Regions from separate parts of the Homo sapiens genome. Here region 2 is linked to region 1. The links are contacts of gene promoters, found by promoter capture Hi-C in human tissues and cell types (Jung and others, 2019). All regions are on one chromosome and are shown on one strand. The core of a region is centred on a gene start or on the middle of the fragment in contact, and the rest is flanking DNA. Distances in the headings are between cores, read along the strand shown. Region 1 holds the start of VAT1L (vesicle amine transport 1 like). Region 2 overlaps VAT1L (vesicle amine transport 1 like).

Region 1 (5,099 bases), core at 329-2,828:
CTCCTCCATGAGAACTTCTCCAACTCTCTGGACCAGTTTTTCAACAGGCTGCCTCTGTGCATATTCTACTATGTACCAATCATGTATTAAGCCCTGGGAAAACCACGCTGGATAAAAGTAGAAATAGCTCCTGCTCACATGAAGTTCACAGTTGGATAAAGGAAACAGATATTATCAGGTAAACATATAAAAGTTGGCTACAAAGGGACATAAGTGTCTATAGTCAGGGAGGACACCAATCTGGAGGTTGGAGTGCCTCCCAACAGGAATGGACCCTTGAGGTGAGAACGAAGTAGGAGTTAACACCAGATAAAGGAGATGGAACACATACCCCAGGCCAAGGGGACAGCAGGTGCAGAACCCTGTGGAAGGAGGGAAAATGGCAATCGTCTTTTTTTTTTTTTTTTTTTTTTTTAAGGAATAGAAGACAAGGGCATTTAAAGCAGTGAGGCACAGGAAGAATGAGGGGAGAGAAGAGGCAGCACTTACATCATTCATTGTACCACATTTGTTGACTGTGTCCTTCATGCCTCATGCTCTGAAATTGACCTTTTCCAATATAAGGACCATGTCTCACTGAAATCATGTCCACCCCAGCACTTCACACAATATAGAAAAAAAAATCAATGTACCCAATTTATAGATGAGTGTGTTGAGGCTCAGGAAGGTTGAATGAGTTGCCCAAGATCTCAAGGCTGGCAATGGCATAGCAACTATAATAGAATATAGACCTACTTCCTCACCTGCATCTCTTTCCTTAAACTGCCCCTAGGAAAACCACGTCCTTCCCCATTATTTTATTTCAGAAATTCCAAGTTTTTCTATGAGCTGTTTTTCTCAAAGAGCCTGATAACAAAACAAAACGCCAGTTACTACTCTGTGTATGTGCATGCATGTTGGGGAGCGGGTACACACTGGTCTTCCGGGGATCAGAACACGAACAGGATCCTTTCTGGTACAGGATTCTTGTCTGAAGCCTCTTTAATAGCCCGAAATGGTGTGGGTGGTGAGAATTCGCCGTCGTAAGGAAGCCCCTGGTGATACCCAGCAAAGAGCATCCCGGCTGACCCTGCAGGTCTGGAGTGAAAAGACCCTGCACTGGACTCTTCAGGGCAGTGAGCGGGATCTCTAGTTCCCTGCTTCCCAAACCTCTCCGCCCTTCCACCCAAAACTGGCTGTTTGAGAAACGACCCAATTTCCCGACTATCCCGCCCAGCCTCGAAGATGGGAGGGAGAGAGGGCAACCTTGTCGCGGTAAGGCATCCTCCAGGCCCAGACATTAGTCTCGGTCCATTTCAAGGCACCCGAGCCTGTGCCGTATATAACCAAGTACTGGGCCCACAGGAAGGGGGATGACAGGGTGGTCTCTCTAGGCTCGTTTTAGTCACAGATCTTCGGCAAATTTGGGTTTAGGGCCGCGATCCCGACCCTAACTTGGGACTATTTCAGGAACTGGAGTTGAGGCTTCGTTGGGACAGGAAAGAAGGGTGGGGCGGGGGTGAAGCGCTTAGGGCACGGCTCTTGTGAGGATTACGGCGGAGGCTGTGGACCGCGGCGGCGCTCGCAGAGGCTGCAGCCATTGCACAGCCGAGCATCCCACATTCAACAGGAGGAACCCGCGGGAGAGGAGCCCCACTCCCCCAGCGCCGCAGCCACCGCAGCCACCGCAGCCCGTGCGCCCCGCGCCCTCGAGCGCCATGGCCAAGGAAGGCGTGGAGAAGGCGGAGGAGACGGAGCAAATGATCGAGAAGGAGGCAGGCAAGGAGCCGGCGGAGGGCGGCGGCGGCGACGGCTCGCACCGCCTCGGGGACGCCCAGGAGATGCGCGCGGTGGTGCTGGCTGGCTTCGGGGGGCTCAACAAGCTGCGGCTCTTCAGGAAGGCCATGCCCGAGCCTCAGGACGGCGAGCTCAAGATCCGCGTCAAAGCCTGGTCCAGTATCCGCGCCTTTCTCGCTTTCTCTCTTTTTGCGCGCTGGGCGCTGGGGAGGGGGTGGGAAAGCTGCGGCTGGGATGCTGCCCGGGTAGAACCGCCGCGCGCACCCCCTCCGCGCCCTCACCCGGGTCTCAGAGCCTCCCCGGGCCAAAGCTGGGGAGGATGCAGAGGGGCGGCCTCCCCAAGCCAGATCTAGGGGTGACGGGAGGAGAATGTGAGCTCCTGGGCGCGGGGAGAATGCTGGCGCCCAGGCACCCCGGGTCTGGAAGATTGCGCTACGGGAGTTCTCCGTCTGAGAGGACAACTCAGCTTTCGCACGGGAGGGTTGATGCTTAACAGAATTAAAAATATATGTATTAAGAACCGCAAGCCCACTGTGTGCCAGCCGCCGTTGGTAGTTTTACACGTGCGATCTTATTTAATACTTCCTGGGACCTAATGAGTCAGGTGCCATCATGATCCGTTTACAGGTAAGAAAGCCGCCGCTCAGCGAGAATGAGTGATTTGCCCAAGATCAGTCAGCTGCCACTAAGTGGCTTGGCCGGGAATTTGATACATGATCTTTTTTCACCTCTATGCTGTTGTCCTGAAGGGCCTGGGACAGGGTGCAGGGCTGGATCCCGCCTCCTGCCCACTTCCTTCCCCGTAGCCTGACGGGGAAAGGAACTAGGAAGGAAGAGGGTCGGTACCTTGCACCCAGGCTTGGTGAGGGTGGAGACCAGGGCTGCAGCGCAACCCCCTCCATGCCCCTCTCCATCCTCTGTTTCTCCGAGAGGGGAAAAAACCCTGATCAGTCTCCCCGGAATTCCTGGTCCCATCTCAGAAGGAGCTCAGCTCTCTAAGCTGCCCTCTATTCCCCATTCCCCCTGGGGGAACTTCTCCAGGCCCTCACGCTCAGCTGAAATTCCCGGGGAGAGTTTAAGCCTCTCTGTGTGCGGGCACTGTAATTTCCCTGAAGTTCTGGGAAGAGCTTACCCAGCAGAGGCGGACTGGACCCAACACTAGGTTTGCATGTTAAACTTGTAAGGGGAACTTGCTATTAATCACGGTGAGACGAGCCTATTCCTTCCCATCTGTTTTCTAGAGCCCCCCAGTACATACTGCTCTCCAAAGCAGCAGCCAGCTCACGAGCTTCTAGGTTAGATCAGAAACCCAATATCTGGACCTCTCTAGAGGCACGAGAAATACAAACGAGGGTCCCCTCCCGTTCACCACCTTGAGAACAGACGCAGGTTTCATCGGCCAGATTAGAAAGCAGCTAGTGGGAGAAGCAGCCGCTGATCCCTGCCTTGCTGCTCATATATGCAGCTGGTCAGGTTTGACTCTGAACACGACTCGTGAGTCTCTGTGGGGAATTCCGGGTAAGGGAAGAGGCTTTTGCAAACCGGGGGATCCTGTACAATAAACTCTTATTGAACCAAGTTGTTTGATCCCAGAAGGAGAGCTTATATCTGCCCTTTCGCAGCTAAATCCCCAAAGACCAGCCCACTCCCCCACCCCACACTGTTTGGCCCACTGCACATCCTAAATAAGTTATCGCTGAATGAATGGATTGAGGAAAGAGCTCGGAGGAGGATTGTTGGGTCATTATTTTTCTTTACTTGCTGGTGGAAGAGCTTTTGCTTAGTACAATTAAAACCATGCATTTAGAACTCTCCTTCCTTAACCACTTCATCAAAAAAAATTACCTGTATACACACACCTATGCATATATGTGCATATACATATATACAATTATATATACAGTTGCATATGTATGCGTATGTAATTTATGACCCTTCATCCAAATTGAGGATGGGATTCTAGGATTCTAGAGTACATATTCAGAGAGGGAAAATGATAAAACTACTTTTTAAAGGAAAGAGCATCATCTGCAGTACACATAGTTCTGTGTTTTCCAGTCTTATGTTAACTGCATAATTGCTGATAGGAACTGAAGCATTTTGAAATAATAAATGTCAAGATGAAGGCCAAGAGATTGATTTTCAAAGCCAGATGTGAAAGCCTGTTCTTCAGTGGCGCTACACACACACACACAGAAATCACTGCACTTCCCCGACCCTAGTTGTTCAGAAAGCCAACCAGGCTGCAGGTACATTTGGAATACAGTGTTGCAAACAGCCCAGATTGATTTTCCTTTCACCAAGCTGGAAGCAGAGTTAATGGTTTTACAAGGAAGGATTGTAATAGGCTTGTAAATGGCCCACTGGGCAGCTCCTTCTCCTCTGGGCTGGGATTGGCTGGCCAGACATGATCATTGATTATAAGTTTTAGCCTTGGGATACAGGATGACTCATTCTGTATTTTTATGAATCAGCCGATGGCTTCCTGGATGATGGTCTCCCTTTTATCTGCTCTCTATTTTTAATAGAAACCTTTTTGTCATAATAGGATATGCTTTTTGCTTGGAATAAAGCATAGTCCATTTGAACCAGTATTAGACAGACCTGGAATGACGTTCCAAGTTGGCTATGAATTTTATGAAAATGGAAGAGATGAGGCAGGAAGAAATATCCATTTTATATCATGGACCCTTTTTCATTAATGCGCCAGTGAGATGGGTATTTTTCCTACAGAACAGAAGAGCAAATTGAGGCTTGGAAACATTGAGTAATTTGCCAAAAACATCAAAAAATAGTAGACTTAGGATTTGAATCTAATTCTCCTTATATTTTTGCTATTTTCCTTTTATTCCATTTTTGTCTCCCTTGGTGGAAAAGCCTTAGCACATGTGATTCCCCTCTTAGCATGCAGTCTCACTTTCTTTCCTTTCTCCACCGAAGATGGTTCCTTTGCTCTTTTTGTGTCTGGCTTAAGAGAATATTCTCTAGCTATTTCCAAAGTAGTATGGCTTTCTCCAGAAAGTAGAGACATTTTGGTCAAATGCAGCTCAAAAAGAACTGTTGCTGGGGTCAGGGTTGGAATGATAGCAGAGTCTTCTGTCTAAATTGTTTTTTAAAATGTCAGTTTTGATGGCAGATGGATTTCACCAATTATTCATGGAATACTTTACGCAACAAGAGGTTTAAGTGACCAGGTGGAAAAAGCATGTGGCCCTTGAAGAGAGAGGGACTTGAATATAAGCTTAAGCCTCATCTCTTCCTATCCATATGCCCCTGGGGGATGTGTCTCAGTGTCTCCAAACTTCCCATACATTATCTGCAAA
Region 2 (4,705 bases), core at 1,641-4,140, 65 kb after region 1:
GTCTTTCTAATTCACACAAAACTGTGGTAGGGTAGAGCAGGGGCAGCTATGGTTACAGATTGAACCTTTCCAACCCTGCCCTGCCACTGACAATCAGAAATCCCAGAGGGTGTGAAAAAAGCTATTTAACCTGGAATTAGTAAACCGAAGACCATAACATGGAATGATACAGTCTTTAGAGTAAGAAGAGCAGAGCTGGCCAGGCACGGTGGCTTATGCCTGTAATCCCAGTGCTTTGGAAAGCCGAGGTGAAAGGATTGCTTGAGGCCAGGAGCTCGAGACCAGCCTGGGCAACATAGTGAGACCCTGTCTCTACAAAAAAAATTGTTTTAAATTACCCAGACATGGTGGCAAGTGCCTGTAGTTCCAGCTATATGAGAGGCTGAGGTGGGAGGATCGCTTGAGACCAAGAGTTTGAGTTTACTGCAAGCTATGATCATGCCACTGTACCTCAGCCTGGGCAACAGATTGAAAACCTGTATTAAAAAAATAATAATAAGAGAGAGAGAGAGCAGGGCCCTATAATCTACCGAGCATCCACTATGCTTGGCACTGTACTAAGTATGCTAACCTGTTTGCATGTGAGTTCGCTGAGGCTCAGAGAGATGAAGTAGCTTTCCAGAGTCACACAGCCTGTCAGTGCCATAGCTAGGCTGCAAACTCCGGTTTGCCTGACTCCAAAGTCCATATTGTCGTGTTTCCCCAGTGCTGAGCGCCATCACACAGGACCCTCGGAGATTCTGCTCCTGTCCTTCTTGTACATTTGAGGGGCGTAAGCTACAGAGCCCTGAAATGGCAAGAGCAGGATCAGAACTCAGGTTTTCTGTTCCTGCGTGTTCAAGGCTCCCTTCAGAGCTAGCTTGCTTTGGGTCTTGTTCTGAAAGCGGGGATCTCCCACAGTCTCTTCCTCCAGGGCCATACTAGTGCTCCTCTCCCCCTCCCAATCTCGGGGCTGCCCGTCCTTATTGCTCAAACAACAAAACTGTGCTGGCTTGACCCTCAAACATACCATGAGGTGAAAGTGGACTGACCTCTCTCTCTCAGCTAGAGCAGAGGAGGGGCTGTCACTGGTGTGTCATCCCGTAGGCCCGGGCTCATGGAGCCACCTCCTAGGAGAAGCTTTGGGAAAGCAAAAGTCACCTCCCTCCCACCCTTGATCCTGAAGCTGCCTGCTGTGCTCCGTGAGGACGGGGTGTCAGGAAACCCAGCTGAGGGGGATCTGATCAGGCGTCTCGGGCACTGGCTGGCAGCTGAGTTTATGTGGGGAGTGGGAGTCATTGTTGCCAGATCACTTCACGAACATGTCCTGTCCCCACAGGCTTAGCAATAAGGCCCCTTGCATTTAAACCTCACCACTTCCAGTTGCTAGTACTTAGACTTTCTGAGCCTCAGTTTCCAATGATCCTGGCAAGATTACTCTAAGTTCCCTTGCTCTTTCCGAGCCTTTCTTCCAGATGGCAATATGATGTTGGGTGGATAGAATGAGATGTGTGTAAAGTACCCAGCATAGTGCTTGACAAAGCGTAACTTACCAGGAAGAGGTGGTTCCCCTTCCTTCTCTCCTTTTGGCCTACAGATCCACAACTGTCCTACAGCATAAGGCAGTGGTTAAATTGTGGAAGCTGGAGTCATACTACTTGGATTCAGATCTTCTCCCTGGTATTACTGTGTGACTGTAGGCTGTTACCTAACTTCTCTGTGCTTCGGTTCTTCCATCTGGGAAATGAGGATGAACTAGTACCTACCTCATAAAGGTTGTGATGAGGATCGAATGAGCTATTATTTACAGGGTATGTTGAGCCCTGCCAGGTACACAGTAAACTCTGTGGAGCTGGAGTTGAATGAATCAACCTATATGCTTCACCACTTTGCCTCACTTGCTTCTTAATCCAGGACCTTTGCAATGAGCTCAGAGCAGTCTAAGTAGAAGAAAAGGTTTAAATTGTCATCTTCCCAGTCACTTGCTGGAGCAGAGCTGTGACAGGCTAGGAAAACCCGGTGCACCGTGGCCAAGCATCAAGAGCCTCAGAGCCTGCTAATGGGGATGGGGGCTTATTTTCTCTTCCTACTTCTCTGATCACAGAAGACTGTGTTGGTCATGCCCTGATCTACAGGATCCCACACACTAAACCCATGGACTCTGATGTCAGCCTCAACTAGGAAAAGAGGAAGTGGATTGCTACAATGCCATAATTGAGCAAATTAGAAGGATGCCTTTATAGAGCAGTGGATCTCAGCGCCGTCAGCACATTAGAATTCTCCAGGGAATGTATAATTATATACGAATAGTCAGGCCACATCCAGGTTTTAAATAAAATACCTGATTATCAGATACTGTGAGCATCATGGGGCCTTTCTCCTCTAAATCACAGGGAATGTGCCAGTGATTTACCATGATGATTTATGTCAGTGATTCTCAGCTTGAGCTGCATCAGAATCCCCTAGAGGGCCTGTTCAAACTCAGGCTGCAGGGCCCCATCCTGGAAGTTTCTGATTCCATAAGTCTGGGTTGGAGCCTGGGAATCTGCATTACAGCAAGTCCCCAGGTGATGTTGAGGCTGCTGGCTCTGGCACCACACACTGAGAAGCACGGATCCATACAATGAATAAAAGAGAAAAAAATAAGACACTGTCCACCAAGTCTTCTCAAAGAATATGCCTACTTCTTTTGGGGATTAAAAAAAAATGAGGCCGGGCGCCGTGACTCATACCTGTAATCCTAGCACTTTGGGAGGCCAAGGAGAGTTCAGGATTTCGAGACCAGCCTGGCCAGCATGGTGAAACCCCACCTTTACTAAAAATACAAAAATTAGCCAGGCATGGTGGCACGTGCCTGTAGTCCCAGCTACTTGAGCAGCTGAGGCAAGAAAAGCTCTTGAACCCGGGAGGTGGAGGTTGCAGTGAGCCAAGATCGCACCACTGCACTCCAGCCTGGGCAACAGAGTGAGACTCTGTCTCAAACGAAAAAAAAAAAATTGCCCATACTTATATTTTGAGCAATTGAAAAATGCCTGTCCCACTCTTTTCCATTTTTCTTCCCTCTCTCCTATCTCAGCCATGCACCCCTGTAACCTCCTGCCATTGAAATTCTCGGCACCTGTGTGTCACAGCGCATATCACGTGTAGGTCAACAGCTTTGCAGTGACAAACAAAGAAAAAGAAAAACTGACTGATGCTTGAAGCATTGTAGGTGAGAACACAGAATAGTCTTTGCTGCCTTTGGTGGCAGGTCACATGGATCAGCCCACACAGTGGAGTTTGAATTTCCTCTTCTTACAACAATTGAGTCACTGAATTGTTGAGCAGACAAATGACAGCGTGATCTGAAAAAAATGTTTCTGACTCTGTGTCTAAACCTCAATGTGGGAGCTTGTATTGTTGTAAGAAAAACGTAAGTATGGCTCATGCATCCAATGTACTTGATTTTGTGATAATTTTCAGTTATTTTTGCTCATCTAAGTACCTCTATGCGTCGATGAAGATGAAAAAATAAACTGACAATCTTTGGAAGAAGAAAATCTTACCTCACCATCTCCTCCAAGTCTCTTCTCCGAACATTCACAAGCTCATTCTGCTAATTCATTTCCATTCTTTGACTACATTAATGATCTGTGGTTTTCATGAGCTGTTTAACAGTGAAAACAACTTTTAGAAGAGATATACAAAATTCTTTTTGTAAGATGATCTTGAAAATGGTCAAGTTAGTAACAGAAAGTTCCATTTTCATCAAACTTGGTACAGGGACTCAACCTTCATACTTTTTGGGAGATTTCTCCAAATACACTGTTTTTGGCCCAGCTAAATAACTAGTCAATGTGATCAAGAAATCTTAGAACTGAAGAGACCACAGAGATCATTAAGTCCAAGTTCCCATTTTAAAAATGTGAAACCGCTGGGCGTGCTGTTTCACGCCTGTAATCCCAGCACTTTGGGAGGCTGAAGCAGGCAGATCACGAGGTCAGGAGTTTGAGATCAGCCTGGCCAATATGGTGAAACTCCGTCTCTACTAAAAATACAAAAATTAGCTGGGCATGGTGCCACGTGCCTGCAGTCCCAGCTACTCAGGAGGCTGAGGCAGGAGAATCGCTCGAACCCGGGAAGCAGAGGTTACGGTGAGCCGAGATCGTGCCACTGCACTCCAGCCTGGGCAACAAAGCGAGACTCCATCTCAGAAAAAAAAAAAAAAAAAGTGAAATCAAGGCACAGAGACATGAGCTTACCCCTAGTCACACAACCCATTTGAGAAACTTGACCACAGGTGAGTCCTTTCCTTCTCCTTATCTATCTCCCCCGACATGCCCACACACTCCACTTTAATGCATGCCCTTCATTGTCTGCATATGTCCAAAAACATAGTGCACCAATGCAGTCTTTTGCTAGTGGTTCAGTGGAATTGGTGCTCTCATTCTCATGGTTTAGGAATATAATTGTACTTTAATGGTTTATTTATTTTATTAATGTCTGTCATCTTCATTACAATGCAAGTTCCAAGACAGGGACCATATACATAAATAACTCGTTTATATTTCTGGCACCTCTGATAATGTTTGATCCAGTAGAGATGCTCATTATATAGCACTGTAGTCACTCCTGTAATCCCAGCACTTTGGGAAGCCAAGGCGGGCGGATCACGAGGTCAAGAAATTGAGACCATCCTGGCCAACATGGTGAAACCCCATCTCTACTAAAAATACAAAAATTAGCC

The links. The method cuts DNA at HindIII sites, captures the fragments that hold promoters and counts their contacts. A contact is called where the count stands out against the background at its distance.
Region 2: a contact is called between a fragment that was not itself captured here and the fragment with the promoter of VAT1L in region 1, in 5 of the 25 tissues and cell types used here (liver, mesenchymal stem cells, mesendoderm cells and 2 more).

The regions. Positions count from the first base shown.
Region 1 is chr16:77,786,986-77,792,084 of GRCh38, forward strand. It overlaps VAT1L (vesicle amine transport 1 like), which reads left to right and starts at 1,579. Exons shown (of 9, transcript NM_020927.3): 1 at 1,579-1,930. The coding sequence starts at 1,698. All of the region lies in intron 1 of LOC107984878 (a long non-coding RNA gene), which reads right to left. The HindIII fragment of the contact is 13,812 bases long and covers 1-5,099 here.
Region 2 is chr16:77,851,170-77,855,874 of GRCh38, forward strand. The region is part of intron 3 of VAT1L (vesicle amine transport 1 like); the gene reads left to right. Among named protein-coding and RNA genes, the nearest start is that of VAT1L, 65 kb to the left of the region's middle. RefSeq lists an enhancer at 653-1,154. The HindIII fragment of the contact is 9,020 bases long and covers 1-4,705 here.